Linked DNA regions of Homo sapiens: regions 1, 2, 3 and 4 are each linked to region 5. The links are contacts of gene promoters, found by promoter capture Hi-C in blood cells and fetal thymus (Javierre and others, 2016). All regions are on one chromosome and are shown on one strand. Each heading gives the region's core, a stretch centred on a gene start or on the middle of the fragment in contact. The rest is flanking DNA. Distances are from core to core; before and after follow the strand shown.

The links. Contacts are between HindIII fragments. The CHiCAGO score rates a contact against its expected background, and 5 or more counts as called.
Region 1: a contact is called between a fragment that was not itself captured here and the fragment with the promoter of COPB1 in region 5, in 4 of 17 cell types (naive CD4 T cells, fetal thymus, naive B cells and 1 more). The highest score is 5.6, in naive CD4 T cells.
Region 2: a fragment that was not itself captured here is called in contact with the fragment with the promoter of COPB1 in region 5 in 1 of 17 cell types (total B cells); the score reaches 5.4 in total B cells.
Region 3: a contact is called between a fragment that was not itself captured here and the fragment with the promoter of COPB1 in region 5, in 3 of 17 cell types (neutrophils, non-activated CD4 T cells and naive B cells). The highest score is 6.7, in neutrophils.
Region 4: a fragment that was not itself captured here is called in contact with the fragment with the promoter of COPB1 in region 5 in 10 of 17 cell types (naive CD8 T cells, non-activated CD4 T cells, total CD8 T cells and 7 more); the score reaches 15.0 in naive CD8 T cells.

What each region holds. Positions count from the first base shown.
Region 1 is chr11:15,000,757-15,003,456 of GRCh38, reverse strand. No RefSeq gene overlaps it. Among named protein-coding and RNA genes, the nearest start is that of CALCA, 30 kb to the right of the region's middle. The HindIII fragment of the contact is 7,414 bases long and covers 1-2,700 here.
Region 2 is chr11:14,236,910-14,239,609 of GRCh38, reverse strand. All of the region lies in intron 6 of SPON1 (spondin 1), which reads right to left. Among named protein-coding and RNA genes, the nearest start is that of RRAS2, 120 kb to the left of the region's middle. RefSeq lists an enhancer at 1,990-2,039. The HindIII fragment of the contact is 1,404 bases long and covers 615-2,018 here.
Region 3 is chr11:14,918,548-14,921,286 of GRCh38, reverse strand. No RefSeq gene overlaps it. Among named protein-coding and RNA genes, the nearest start is that of CYP2R1, 28 kb to the right of the region's middle. The HindIII fragment of the contact is 570 bases long and covers 1,003-1,572 here.
Region 4 is chr11:14,876,504-14,879,203 of GRCh38, reverse strand. It overlaps CYP2R1 (cytochrome P450 family 2 subfamily R member 1), which reads left to right. Exons shown (of 5, transcript NM_024514.5): 4 at 1-90; 5 at 907-1,764. The coding sequence ends at 1,082. It also overlaps a transcript of PDE3B not described here. Among named protein-coding and RNA genes, the nearest start is that of CYP2R1, 14 kb to the left of the region's middle. The HindIII fragment of the contact is 2,442 bases long and covers 72-2,513 here.
Region 5 is chr11:14,498,438-14,501,137 of GRCh38, reverse strand. COPB1 (coat protein complex I subunit beta 1) reads left to right here and starts at 1,327. Exons shown (of 22, transcript NM_001144061.2): 1 at 1,327-1,431; 2 at 2,153-2,300. The coding sequence starts at 2,210. RefSeq lists an enhancer at 1,106-1,205. The HindIII fragment of the contact is 3,446 bases long and covers 484-2,700 here.

The DNA of each region.
Region 1 (2,700 bases), core at 17-2,516, 500 kb before region 5:
TCTGGCCACAGTTAAGTTGTGCCAATGACAGTGCACAAAATAAAAAGTAGTTATATAGCTATCTATATATGAGAGAGAGAGAGAGAATAAAAAGTCTGAAAAGATGAAGTCAGAAATTTTCAGAATGTGCATGGGGTAGATTTGGGGCATAGAGTAAAATATCATTTTCAGACAGGACCAAAAAGAGCATCAGATTTTTGTTTTATCCATACATTTTTGTCCTTTTAATCATCTTTTTTTGTGATGTTCTGAGAACACTCTTAAGTGGTATTGATCATTTAGCACTGGGTAAGGACTTTAATAGAAAGGATCAAACAAACTAGCTGTGAAAATCAATATCTTCCAATGACATTTAGACATTTATTCATGCCCCAAGCAAGCTATATTATCTGTGCTGTTTATAAACTAGTTATTTTTCTTTAAAATTCTCTGAAAGTTTCACAGTAATTTTTTTTATTCACCAGATAGCAAGTTACTATGATGAAATTTCTAATGCTAAAAACTAAAAAAAAAACAACCCTTGATGGCACTGGTAAACCTTTTGGGGTGTGAGCAAAAATTACCTCAAAGATAAAAGGAATTTTCTTTCTCAAATTGTGATCAAAATCACACATTGTAATAAATGCTATAAAGGAAAAGACCAGGGTTCAGAGATGGAGAATAACAGTGGAATCCTAATTTAGATAAGAGAATAAGAGAAAGCCTCTCTAAGTAACTAACATTTAGGTCAAGACCCAAGGTATAAACTGCCTTCAGAAAAGTGAGTGGAAAGAAATATCTAGACCTCCAATCAGAAAAGAAAAACAATTCTCAAATAAATTGAGAGAGATATCAAACAGAATTCATTCCCAGGAAGCAAATAATCCAGAAAGTAAGCAAGAACTGTCAAATAACCCAGTCGGATAATAACATAACATAGAATATAGAAACAAATTGCCTGCAAGTTCTGAGCTTTATAGATCTACTTAGTAAATATGAAATCAGTAAATCAAGAGCTTAAAGTCTAAATGGAAAACAAAGTAACAGAATTGAAAGAAAAATAGAAATTGCAAACTTAAGGAAATAAAAACAAGTCAAAATAACATTGTCTATAAACTAGAAATTACCTGAACAGGATATATAAAGCAATACTTAAATAAAAACAGTTGGAAGGTTTAATCCAATAATCATAAATTAATAGAAAAAAGAGTAAAACAAATGGGGTAAAAAATAGACATAGAAATCAGAGAAAGAAAATCTCACATTGAGGATATTTGATGTCCCAAAAATAGTGAACCCAACAAATAGAATGCCCCCAAAAATTGTTTAGAAATAGAATCCAGAAAAAAATCCTTGAAATAATAAAATCTGTAAATCAAAATCATCAGATTAAAATGGTACACAGCATCCCCCCCAAATATGTATGGAGAAACATCAATGACAGATTCTGATTATTATTTAATACTGTAGGTTTTGCTTACAGTCAAGAGGGAGTAAAAGAACATGGATGTACTCTCTAACCGGGAACAATTAGAAAGCTGGCCAAATATACATAAAATAAAAGTGTTTGGACACTGGACAAATTCAGTAAAGGGTTGTGATCCCTGACAGAAGGAAAATAGGTGAATCCTACAATAGCTTCCAATTTTAGCCTATAGACAATTTATGGCCCATGAGTGCAGATATAGGGAAGCTGATCGAAGTATGAGGGGTTTTCCCTGAGTTGAGGAAACAGAGATTAGAGTTTAGGGTGGCCCAGGCAACTAGATTTTGCAAGGTAGAATATTGCAGAGAGGATGACTATTTAGAAAAAAGGGCTCTGGGTAATTGAATGGGAGTCCCTTTGAGTCTTTGACTGAATAATAATCTGTCCATGAATAGCATAAAATTTAACAAGACTGTACAAATAACAACATGTAGAAAAAGAAAAATTACCAGGAAGTAGAAGCCAAATAATATCCATAGCTTATTCAGAGCCAGAATTATTCAAGTTCCTTCCAGCCAGGGCAGAATGATATAGTTAAATGCATATGAAATTTACTAGAGACGCCACAAGAAGCCTATCCGGAGCTAAACTGGTACTACAGGAACAGTGACTTTAAACACACCCTCAAAACGCAAAAAAAGTTTTAAAACAAGCCTAGAAAAGATCAAACTGAATCACAAGTAGTTGAATTTCTTGCCGGAACAAAATTAATTTCCTTTAAAGAAATACAACAAAATCCAGCACTTAACAATAAAATGTTTACAATGTTTAACATTCAATCAAAAATTGATAGATATGCAAAAATAGAAGAAAATGTACCCAAATAAAAAAATAATTCCATAGAAACAGATACAGAAATAATAAGGTGGAATTAGTAGCAAGAAAGATAAAAATCACTTTAAAAATGTGTTTAATATGCTTAAGAATTTAAATAAAAACATGAATGTAATGAGGAGAAAAATGGAAGATTTAAAAAATGAAACTGAGTGGAACTGCAAGAGAAGAAAAATGAAGTATATGAAGTGAAAATTACACAAAATCACTTAGAGGATTAAGAATGAGATACCCATCCCAACTCACTTTCTGAAGCTAGCATTACCCTGATTTAAAGAAAAAAGATGAAAATGTTATAGGAAAAAGAAACTACGGGTTAATTTAATATCCATCATCTACATAGACAAAATAAATCCTTAATACTATAATAGTAACAAATTGCATCAAATAATATGTACAAA
Region 2 (2,700 bases), core at 67-2,566, 260 kb after region 5:
AGGACTACAGGTGTGCACCACTACTCATGGCTAATTTTTGTATTTTTGTAGAGATGGGGTTTCGCCACATTGCCCATGTTGGTCTTAAACTCCTGAGCTCAAGTGATCTGCCCGCCTCGGCCTCCCAAAGTGCTGGGATTACAGGTGTGAGCCACCGTGCCCTGCCAAACTCTGTTTTTTGGCAAGTCTTGTGACCTCTCTTAGTTTTCTCATCTGTGAAATAGGGTAAAAAGAGGATCTTCTGCATGTGCTTGTTAGGGGGACTAAATGACAACTCATGTAATGTGGCAATGAAGTGCCTGGCACATAGCAGGTGCTCCACAAAAATTACTGATCATTCTTATTTTTACTTACATTCAGGGTAAGTTCATATCAGAATTGACTTGCGCTGCCTGAGTACAGAGACTGGAGCACACAGTTGCAGGTACAAACCCACAAAGCCTCAGGAGAACTTGCCTCCATTGAAAGCCAAGCTCTGAGTCCCAGGGAGCATATGATGGAAGGCTTATGTAGCTTGGATGGGGGCACTAGGGCCCTGGGCATTTCACATTCTGAAGAATGAAGGACTTAAATTCAGAGTAAGCAACCCACACTTCAGACTTAAATGAAAAGCTTATTTTAACAAGTCTCTAAGGCACAGACAGGAACTTTCAAGAATACTTAGAGCCCCTTCTCAGCTCCCACAGGACCCTTTTCAAACAAAGTGTCTCAGGGCATCCATCGTTCATGGTTCATTTGGATGATGCCAACACTTTTCTAAAGACATACCAATTAAAATAGGAAAAAACCCAAAGATACTACAGGTCACTCATATTCATCTTCCATTTTGCTTTTGTAAGCATATTGTGGGGATACAACAGCTGTACTTGTACCTCACAGTTACTGGTACCAAATGGGAAGAGCATATCCCCTAACAGGCCATGGGCTGAGGTCAGGTCTGGAGGGAAGCGGGTTCATGTGGAATGAAAACAGATCTGGGACAGATCTGTTCTGGAGGCAGCAATTACATCAATACCAGGAGATAAACAGGGTGGTCTGAGCAGAACAGAAAGTAAGACTGTGAGTCTAGGGTCGGGGCTGGTGTCTGAACCAATCTTACCCCACGCTGACCCTCCTCTGCACTCCAGAGCCAGCCACCCAATGAGGAAGAGCTCCACACATCCCAGCTGTGCCCACAGCAGAAGGCCAGAGTCTGTCACATCCCCCTGCCCCTTTCTTCCTAACTTTTTGACTTTGTCTTCCAGTCCTGAACCACAAGCCATTTCCTCATCCTAAACATTCCTTTGCTGCTGGTAGCACTGAGGCTCAGACCTCAGTGTGGAGTCAGCCTGGCCAACTTGCCTGATGCCCCTACCATCTCTCCTCCCCACAGGAAGAGAAATGGGATGCAATCCATGATCAGAGAGGGAAAGGAATAGAAACAGGTGGAAACAGCAACAATAATAAAACAATAATTATTTATTTTTTATGTGCTAAGCATCTTGCTAACCTTGCAAATTGCCTAATAGACAGCATCTGATTTAATCCTTACAACACATTTGCAAGGTGGATATATACGTTTTAATCCTCAGAAACACATTTATTTGGCCAAATTAGTTTCACAGTTAGTTAACTGGCTGAGCTAGAGTTTAGACCTCAGTCTGATTCTAGAGGCCACACCCGTTGCCACCATGAACCCAGGCAGATGGGGCCTGAAAGTGCACACTGTGGCCCAGGAGAACCAGGCCCACCCCTCCTACTTCTGCTGCTCTTAAGGGCATGTCCTAGCCTACTTTCAGTTCTGCATATCACAGCCACACGTGGAAGAATATCAGACCATGTTCACAACACTGAAAGTTACTGCTGTTCTGACGACCGGTTTGATGAAGCCGGGAAGGCACAGGCTCCTTGGGCTGAAGAAAAACTGTCTGCTACTAAACAGGGGAAAACCCAGTGCCACTAATTGCAAATGCAGTGATACGCAGCCACACACACAGTGTGCATTCCCCCATTCAACAGCTTGTTTCTTACAGAAAGCTTTGGAAATAGCTATCACGCTGTCCACTGCAGATGAGGAAGCTGTGGCTCAGAGGAGTCAGGTCATTTGCTGACCACACAGGAACCACGATTCCAACGCATGTGTATCTGACTCCAAACTCACATTCTTTCCACTTTCCCTGACTGTCCTTCTTCTCCATCCTTCTCTCCTCCCTCCCCCATGTTGCTCATTTTGCAGTGAGAGCACAGCTGACCCTGGTTGGTGGCTTTCTCCAAGGAGCCCTTGCTTTGAGGCACAGGATCACTGGGGTTCCCTCTGGGAGAGCAGTGTCTGGAATCTTGCGTGGAGACCCCGGTGAGCACTATTTGGCCCCATTATTTGCTTTTTCTCTTTCCCAGTTGCCATGCACAAAAAATATCCATCCTGACAGCTTCTACCTCTGAAGGTAACTTTTTCATGCCTGGGTGAGTGTTCTGGTGATGAGTAGCAAGAAATGAGCCATTTTATGAGGTGATAACGGGGCTGTAAGCATCTTTAAAACCAATTGTGCCCAACAGTAGCCTCCCCTCATTTCAACAGCCTCTGGGCTTCTCAGGTCATAAATAAAACAGCTCATATTTGGTGGCACTTTGCAGTTTGCCCATGGTCTGCACTGCTGCTCTCTGAGGAAGGCAGGAGGGTGTCCCCATTTCTCAGGTGAGGCAACTGAGACTCACCTCTCC
Region 3 (2,739 bases), core at 38-2,537, 420 kb before region 5:
AGGCACTTGAGCACTTCCTTACTTTCTGGCACTATAAGATGCTCCAAATTTACTTTGTATTTTCCCTACCCCAGCCTTAGAGTCATCCATTTATCCAGGGATTCCTGCTTCCTTTTATTGGAGAATAATATACAATATATAAATATAAAATTATGATTTAAGTTCTGGGTGCTAGATGTGCTGCATCTTTTGATAGCAGTCATCAAAGAACACAGCTATTATTATAGATTAATGTCAAAGAACACAGTTATTATTATAGCTTTGTGATTAATTCCCTAACTTTTTCCTCTTGACCTTTCCCCTGACAAGATCCTACCCTGAATCTCCCCCACAACATCCCTTCATTTACTCACTCACTCACTCATTCATTCAACATCATTTATCTAGCTATCATATGTCAAGTACTCTTGTGCCTCGCATTAAGATGCCACTGCCACCTACATAGTCTAGATGCATGCTGTCTGAAGTTACGGTTCTGCCGAGACATAATATATAGGAATTAGTCAGGCAAAGGAAAAAGGGGAGGGAGCTGAGGTAAAAGAATGGAAAATAAACATGTGTCCCCAGCGTCTGTGCCCAGAGGGACATTTAGAAAACTCAGAATAGTTGCTTTTTAATTATGTTATAAATTAGAGAGTATCATTTTGTATTTGAGAATAGCCCCACTCCCTAACCAGTTGCACTCACTCTGGAAGAATGGGAATTTCTAAAATTGCTAACCACTGATAACACTGCATGAAAGAAACTAATGGTCCAAAAACTACAACAACAAAACCAATGAGAAACACAAACCAACTATGTGTTCCTAACTGTTCATAATTCAAATGATCAAATATATTTAGAACAACTGCTCTGTGCTGGGGATAGAGAAGCAAACAAGAAAGACAAGGCCCTGTCCTCAAGCAGCTTTAGTCTGTTGTGATAAGCGTTATAGACAAAAAATACATAGAGCTGTGGGGCATACAGCAAGAGGATTTAACCATTGTGGGGGTGAGAGAAGCTTCCTAGAGGAAGTGGCACCAATGGTGAGGTTCGAAGGAGGAGAAGCAGCTAATAAAAGAGAAGAAACCAAGATCTGGTCATCTTTGACCAGCTTAAACCTTAAAGAATGCGTCTATTATCACAGGTTTATGATTAACTCTCTAATCCCTTTATCTATGCCTAGTCTTTCCCCTGAACAGGTTCCTACCCTTACTCTCTCCAGTATCCTTTCATTTATTCATTCATTCAACATTATTGAGAAGACAGGAAGGAAAAGCATTCCAAGCAGAGAAAACAGCCTGTGGGAAGGCCAGGATATGAAAGAGGGCATAATGTGCTCAAGAAACTGAAGTAAATGTTCTATGTCTACAGAGAAGAGAGCAAGAGAAAGCAAGGCAAGAAATGAGGCTGGAGACGTAGGAAAGTACCAGGTCCCATTGCTCCTTAAAAGTCAGTGTAGCGTTTTGAACTTTATTCCCAGGGTAATGGTGAACTATGGATGGCTGTTAAATCAATGATCAGACCAGACAACCCAGCTGCAATGGGGAGAATGGAAGAGAACAAATGAAGATGTTAGACCTCTGTAAAGCTTCTATAAGTCTTAGCTTCCTTTCTGCCTCACAGGATTGGAAGAAGGATTCAACAAAAGAACACATACAAAACCCCTAGCACAAAGTTTGGCATGTGGCAGGCAATCAGGAAACATCAGTGCCTTCTTTTGTCCAACAATTCTGATTCTTTTTCATCTATTCTCATTTTTCTTTTTATTCCCTGACCATATTTTGGAAAGAAAATTACCATTTGTATTAGTCCATTTTTGCCTTGCTATAAAGAAATACCTAAAACTTGGTAATTATAAGAAAAGGGGTTTAATTAGCTCACGGTTCTGCAGGCATTACAGGAAGCATAGCAGCTTCTGCTTCGGGGGAGGCCTCAGGAAGCTTCCAATCATGGCAGAAGGCAAAGGGTAAGGCATCTCACATGGTGAGAGCAGGAGCAAGAGAGAGGGGAAGGAAGTGCTACATGCTTTTAAACAACTAGATGTCATGAGAACTCATTCACTGTTGTGACAACAGTACCAAGGCGGATGGTGTTAAACCATTCATGAGTAACTGCCCCCATGATCCAATGATCCAATCACCTCCCACCAGGTCCTACCACCAACACTGGGTATTACAATTCAACATGAGTTTTGGGCAGGGATACAAATCTAAACCATATCAGTATTTAAACCTTTTGCTGTGGTTACAGTTGATAACTGTGGTAGAGACAGTGAACAAATATGAGTAAGACCCAAGCCTTTCTATAAGACATATTTACTACAAGCCATAACATAACTTGATATGAACCACATAATGATATGAGTTCAAGCTCTCAGAGGGCAAGGAGAGCATCCTTTACCTCTCTGTCCTTAATGTCAGGCAAAATACGTGGCACAGGGGGCTTAACACAGGCTTGTCAACCATACGAATGCATGCTCTTGGAGCTCAGATCGGGGGAGCAGGAAGATTGGATGCACTGAAAGTTTAATATCTTGAGATTGCATAAGGCTAATTGAACACTGTGGCTTTCTGTCTATTTCATTGATTACTGGTTTGGGGATAATTGTTAGCATGCTCCCTGCTTTGGCTTTTATTTTTCATGAAAGTTTCTTCATAGTGATTGTTTAATCTCAAATCAAAACTTTCCTATCATGAAACATAATATAATAACATGAAAACATCAAAGCTATACTGAGATGCTTGTTTTGATAATATT
Region 4 (2,700 bases), core at 43-2,542, 380 kb before region 5:
GGAGAGACCCAGAAGTGTTCCATCCTGAGCGATTTCTGGACAGCAGTGGATATTTTGCCAAGAAGGAAGCTTTGGTTCCTTTTTCCCTAGGTAAGAGAACTTTCACGGGGCGTAACTTTAGAATAAAGGATAATGATAATTCATTAGATACAGCATCTTAATCTGAAGCATCCTTCTATAGAATTAAATATCCCAATTCTAAAAACACAGAACTGATTCTAACAGGAGAGAATGATTAAATTGGAAGTAATTAACATCTGTTTCGGCTTAATATAAGCCTTAATTTATTAACTATAGATGAACTTTTGAGAACCCCTGGCTTCTTCTAAATCTGTTTTTCAAAACTTGTGGAATGAGAATTCAGTAACAGGTAGCTTGAGAAACTGAGACCCAGAGAGGGAAAAGATATAGTCACTTAAGTAAAACTAGAATCTCACTCTCTTGGCTTCTGGTTATTGTACTTCATCTTCAATTAGGAAAATATTGCTTCTTCTGTGAAAAGGTACACAAGACCCATGGAAGATGGACTAGAAACTCTTCCCCTTCACTGGAGAAGAATACACACTTAGTTGAAATGAAGTGGACTGTTCTTGAGCAAAATGTCTCACCTCAAATTAGATCTTTTGTGGCATATCTTAGGCTCTGTTGCAGCATAGGAGGGAAGTGGGAGATGGAACTAAAGTCTTACAAAAGTCCGTGGTCTAACAAAAGGAGGTAAATGAATGGGTTCTGCTTGCTGAAGTGTCAATTTCTATTCTTTGAGATTTAAGAAAATCCTTTAATAAACATAGTTCCCTCTTTCTTTGTTTAAATTCCAGATTTCCTGAATGACATCCAAATATTAGACATTAATTTTGGTAAAGATTGTGGGTTTAAAAAATTATTGTATCTGCTTTTTCTGTTTAGGAAGAAGACATTGTCTTGGAGAACACTTGGCTCGGATGGAAATGTTCTTGTTTTTTACAGCATTGCTTCAGAGGTTTCATTTGCATTTTCCACATGAACTAGTTCCAGATCTGAAGCCCAGGTTAGGCATGACATTGCAGCCCCAACCCTACCTCATCTGTGCTGAAAGACGCTGAAACTGCCTGGGATGTTTTCGGGAACAAGAATGTATATTTGCCTTATCCCTGAACTTGGTTTAATCAAATCAATGTGTGTATTAGAATAAAAGTCACAGCATCAAAAAGCCAAATGAACACAGATGTGTCTTAAAATAGTACTAGAGCAGAAACAAGCACTAGTCGTGATTGTTTTTCAAGATTTTATGACTTCTGGGGTAAAATTCTCTGTTGAGAGACACAAAGGTGCAAATGATGGGTGTTGCTTAAAATGCTAAGAAGGGTCATGGACGCCCTAAGCTGAGCATCTTGTTTAGTACCAGGTACTTTCATCCCTTCTTGACTCCATCTGCCTTCTGTCCTGGGGGGCCTTGGTTCCAGAAACCAGCTCCCTTCTGATCAGGTATTGTCATTAATAAACTGTGTGGTACCAGTCCAGTTTAATAGAGGACTACAGAAGAAATTAAAACACAAATAAATGAGTTAGGACTATAGAGGTATTTTAGATATGGTGGGAGATGGTAGAAGAAATATGTATTTAATGTAGAGCCTGCCAGTGCTTTCATATCTTGCTTCCTGCTCTGTCTTCATAAGAACTGTGTCATTCTTCTTATAAATGAGGGTCTGTGTGACCCTGAGTGTCCATCTTCATAGCAGTTAAGTAGATAGGACATTACAATAATATATTTAAAATTTAAAATGATAAATGGCTATTGAATCTTTGTTGGCACATTTTCCCTGGCACCACTTCTTTCTAAAACCAATCACAAGGATTAAAGATCGAATTCACTTATATCTTTTAGAGGTCTCTAGGCATTTCCATGGGTTAGTGTTATTTTTCTAAAGATAATTATATTCAAATCCAAAAACATGCTTTAGAGACAGGGTAACTGTGTAAACTGGGACACTTGAGAGTGAATGGGGTCCTATTCATAATTATGTCAGGACAACAAGGGTAAATTATGACTGCCCTAAACAAACTGGAATGTATATTGACCCATTTATAGCTATTTTTACATCATCATTTCTTCTAAAGTTGTTATATTACAGGTACATGCTCTTGTAACATGGCTCATGAATAGTTGCAGCCTCAGAGTCAGTGCACACAATGACTTCTATTAAGAATATGGATTTAACCTTAGTTTGGACTTAGTTGTTGAACAGTTTCAAGTTTGTGTGTTATACATCAGGAGTTTGCATCTTGGATATATTCAGATGTTTCCAGTTGCAAGGGAAAGAAAATCCTTGCAAGTTCACTTAAGCAATAAAAGGGGAATTTGGAGGAAGGGTGGAAGTTTTAGGGTCCGTATGGCTTAGATGTTACATGGTGTAATCAAAGATCCTGTGTCTTTCCACCTCTGAATTTTGCCTTCCAGATGATACCAGCTTTATCTTAAGGCTAGCTCATGGAGCACATGTGCTTTGCTCACCTCCATACAGAGAAAGCAAGCTTAGATCGTTTCTGGGAGAGCGAGGGAATTTTTCAGATGCCCCCAGAAAACTGTTTTTTGTGTCCTGTAGGTTCTGAGTTATGTGCCCATCCATTAATTTAAAACTATGCTTTGTGAGTGTAATTATGGTTCACTTAGCCTGAACATATGCCTGACTACTAGAAGTAGTGATGGAGTTGGCTTCTCCC
Region 5 (2,700 bases), core at 78-2,577:
CTCGACTGTGTTGGTGATTACACACATATAAGCATGATAAAATTGTCTACAAGTGAATATAAAAACGAGTACATGTAAAACTAGTGAAGTCTGAACAAGGCTGGGTGAATTATGTCTGTCAATTTCCTGAAATTGATATTGTACTATAACTATGCAAGATGTTACCATTGGGAGAAACTAGGTAAAGAGTATATGGGATCTCTGTATTCATGTCACTCTACCATTAAGATTAAATATTAAAAAAAATGAATGCACAGAATCAGAGAGGCACTCTTAAAGTGCTGTCAACACATGGCCTTTGAATACAATTTTGGGTGCTCAAAGAATTTGTAGATTGCTTGATGGTTCTAAAAAGAGAAAGCTCAAAAGAGCTAGATCCTACATAAATGAGGTACTATTGGTGTTCCATCTTCCTGAGATGAACCTGTTAACTAGGGCAGTTGCCGTCAGATCTGTTTTTATTCGCAGTATTTTGCTTAAGCTTTAAGATATTTTGTTATTAATAATTGGCCATAAAACCCTTTTGTGGGCAGAGGGAGGTGTAGGGGCGGGGCGTGCTATGGAACTTCAAATGGGCAAAACCGAAAGTACTATGGCTGATTGCAGCTGTAACAGGTCTTTGGAGATACGTAAAATCCTTTAAAACAGTGACTGTCTCCCTTTATGCATAAAAATTTTTTCTAATCTACTGGGTGCTCAGAAAGGATCACGGAAAGAGGCCATTATTAAATAAAAAGCAGAAATTATACCAATGTGACTTTGGATTTTCAAATAACTCCAGCCCTACCTGCAGAGAGGCAGATTCAAACTACTAGCGATGTTAAGAACTGAAATGGATTTTAATCTAGTGATAATTAATAAAATAACTGAATTACCTTCCCAATAGTATTAGTTACTTTCCCAGTTTATTAGGGTGTGGACAAGAAAAAGGATTACTGGGTTTCCACTTTCTAGTCCAGAGCTCTTTTTCACGGGAACAGAGCCCTGTAAAAGTTTCCCTCTCTCCAAGCACTTTCTCCCCTTGACTGTTCCTGAAGAAGGAACGATTTCCAGTTAGCGTTTAAATTAGCATAGTGCTTAACTCAGAGCTTGGCTTGCAGGGAAAACTAGAAAATACGTGGTTTCATTGCTCTGCGGCCTAATCAAACCCTGGACAAGAGAAGAGGAAGAAAATAGGATATACTTGCAGCGCGCAAGCGCTGCACAAAGAAAGCATGTCCTCTCTGAGTCGCCGTAGGTGCTAGGTGGCTGTGGCTTCGGTCGTTACCCCACCCCCTTCCACGTCAGCCAAGGACTCTGGAGCCGCCGCCGCCGCTGCTGCGGTTCATAGCCGGAGTAGACGGAGCCGCAGTAGACGGATCCGCGGCTGCACCAAACCACTGCCCCTCGGAGCCTGGTAGTGGGCCACAAGCCCCCAGTCCCAGAGGCGTGGTGGGTCGGGCAGAGTCGGAAGAACTGGCTTTCTAGCTGGAAGATGCGGAAGGGGAGCGACTAGGCCGCTTGCGTCTGGGCCTGGCAGAAGGGACCGGGTGGGGGTACGGGTGGGGGTGCGGGTCGGGGTGGGGGCGGAGGGCTAGGAAGCTCCGGGTCGGACGCTCCATCCCGTCCTTTGTATTGGCCGGGGGTCTTTTCCCTCCCAAGACCCCTAGGCGTACCCTTTCAGGCCTAGGGCTGCTTTGCTGGAGGAAGGGGAGGAGGAAGCGGGTGGGGCGAGGTGGGGGTGCAGCGCGTTGATTAAGGGACCCGCGGACATAGAGTCGGAACCCACCAAGGACCGCGATAAAGCGCTTTAGGGTTTTGGCAGAGTATTCAGGCACAAGGTCTCTTAACTTGAGCATGCAGATTGTGTGTTGTGTAAAAACCATACGGTCCATAACATTGTGGGGTGTGGCTGGGGGGACTGTCACTGTTCTGTGGGCCTTCATTCGGCTATACAGCATTCTCAAACACTGGACCGGGATGCGATGAGGGAGTGATAGATAATATACCTTATGCCAGAGCTGATAATGTGGTTTTTACTAGAATTTATTTTTATGGGAACACGATATAGATTGACCTGCCCTTTCTAATACTTTAAAAGGTCACTATAGGTACTTGTTTGTGGGTTTTTTTTTTTTAATTTGTAATGATATGTCTGTGTTTATTTTTCTAGATTTTCTGGCATCCTTAAATCTTGTGTCAAGGATTGGTTATAATATAACCAGAAACCATGACGGCGGCTGAGAACGTATGCTACACGTTAATTAACGTGCCAATGGATTCAGAACCACCATCTGAAATTAGCTTAAAAAATGATCTAGGTAAACTTCGATATTATTTTGAGAATGAAATGAAAAAAGAAAAAACAAAAATAAAAAACTCATATTTCATATTCCTTTATAATTAGAAATGCTTAATTTTTGTCTAAAGTTTTTCTAGGATCTCTTCGATAGACCTTTTATTAAAAATGCGAACTTCTTTAAATATTGGTTGTTTGAAATAGAACATCTCAGTTTATCTTAGTAAACCTAAAGAAATTGTAATAGTTTAGATATTCCTCAAAATGTCATAATTTTTGTAGACTTCAATATATTAATGTGGCTGATTATTTTCTCTAGGCAACAGGTTGAGGATGTGTATTGGAATATCTTAATTCCATCGTGCACTTAACTTCATGTTACTTAGCTTGTAAAACCAAAAGAACTTTGTTCTTTGGATTAC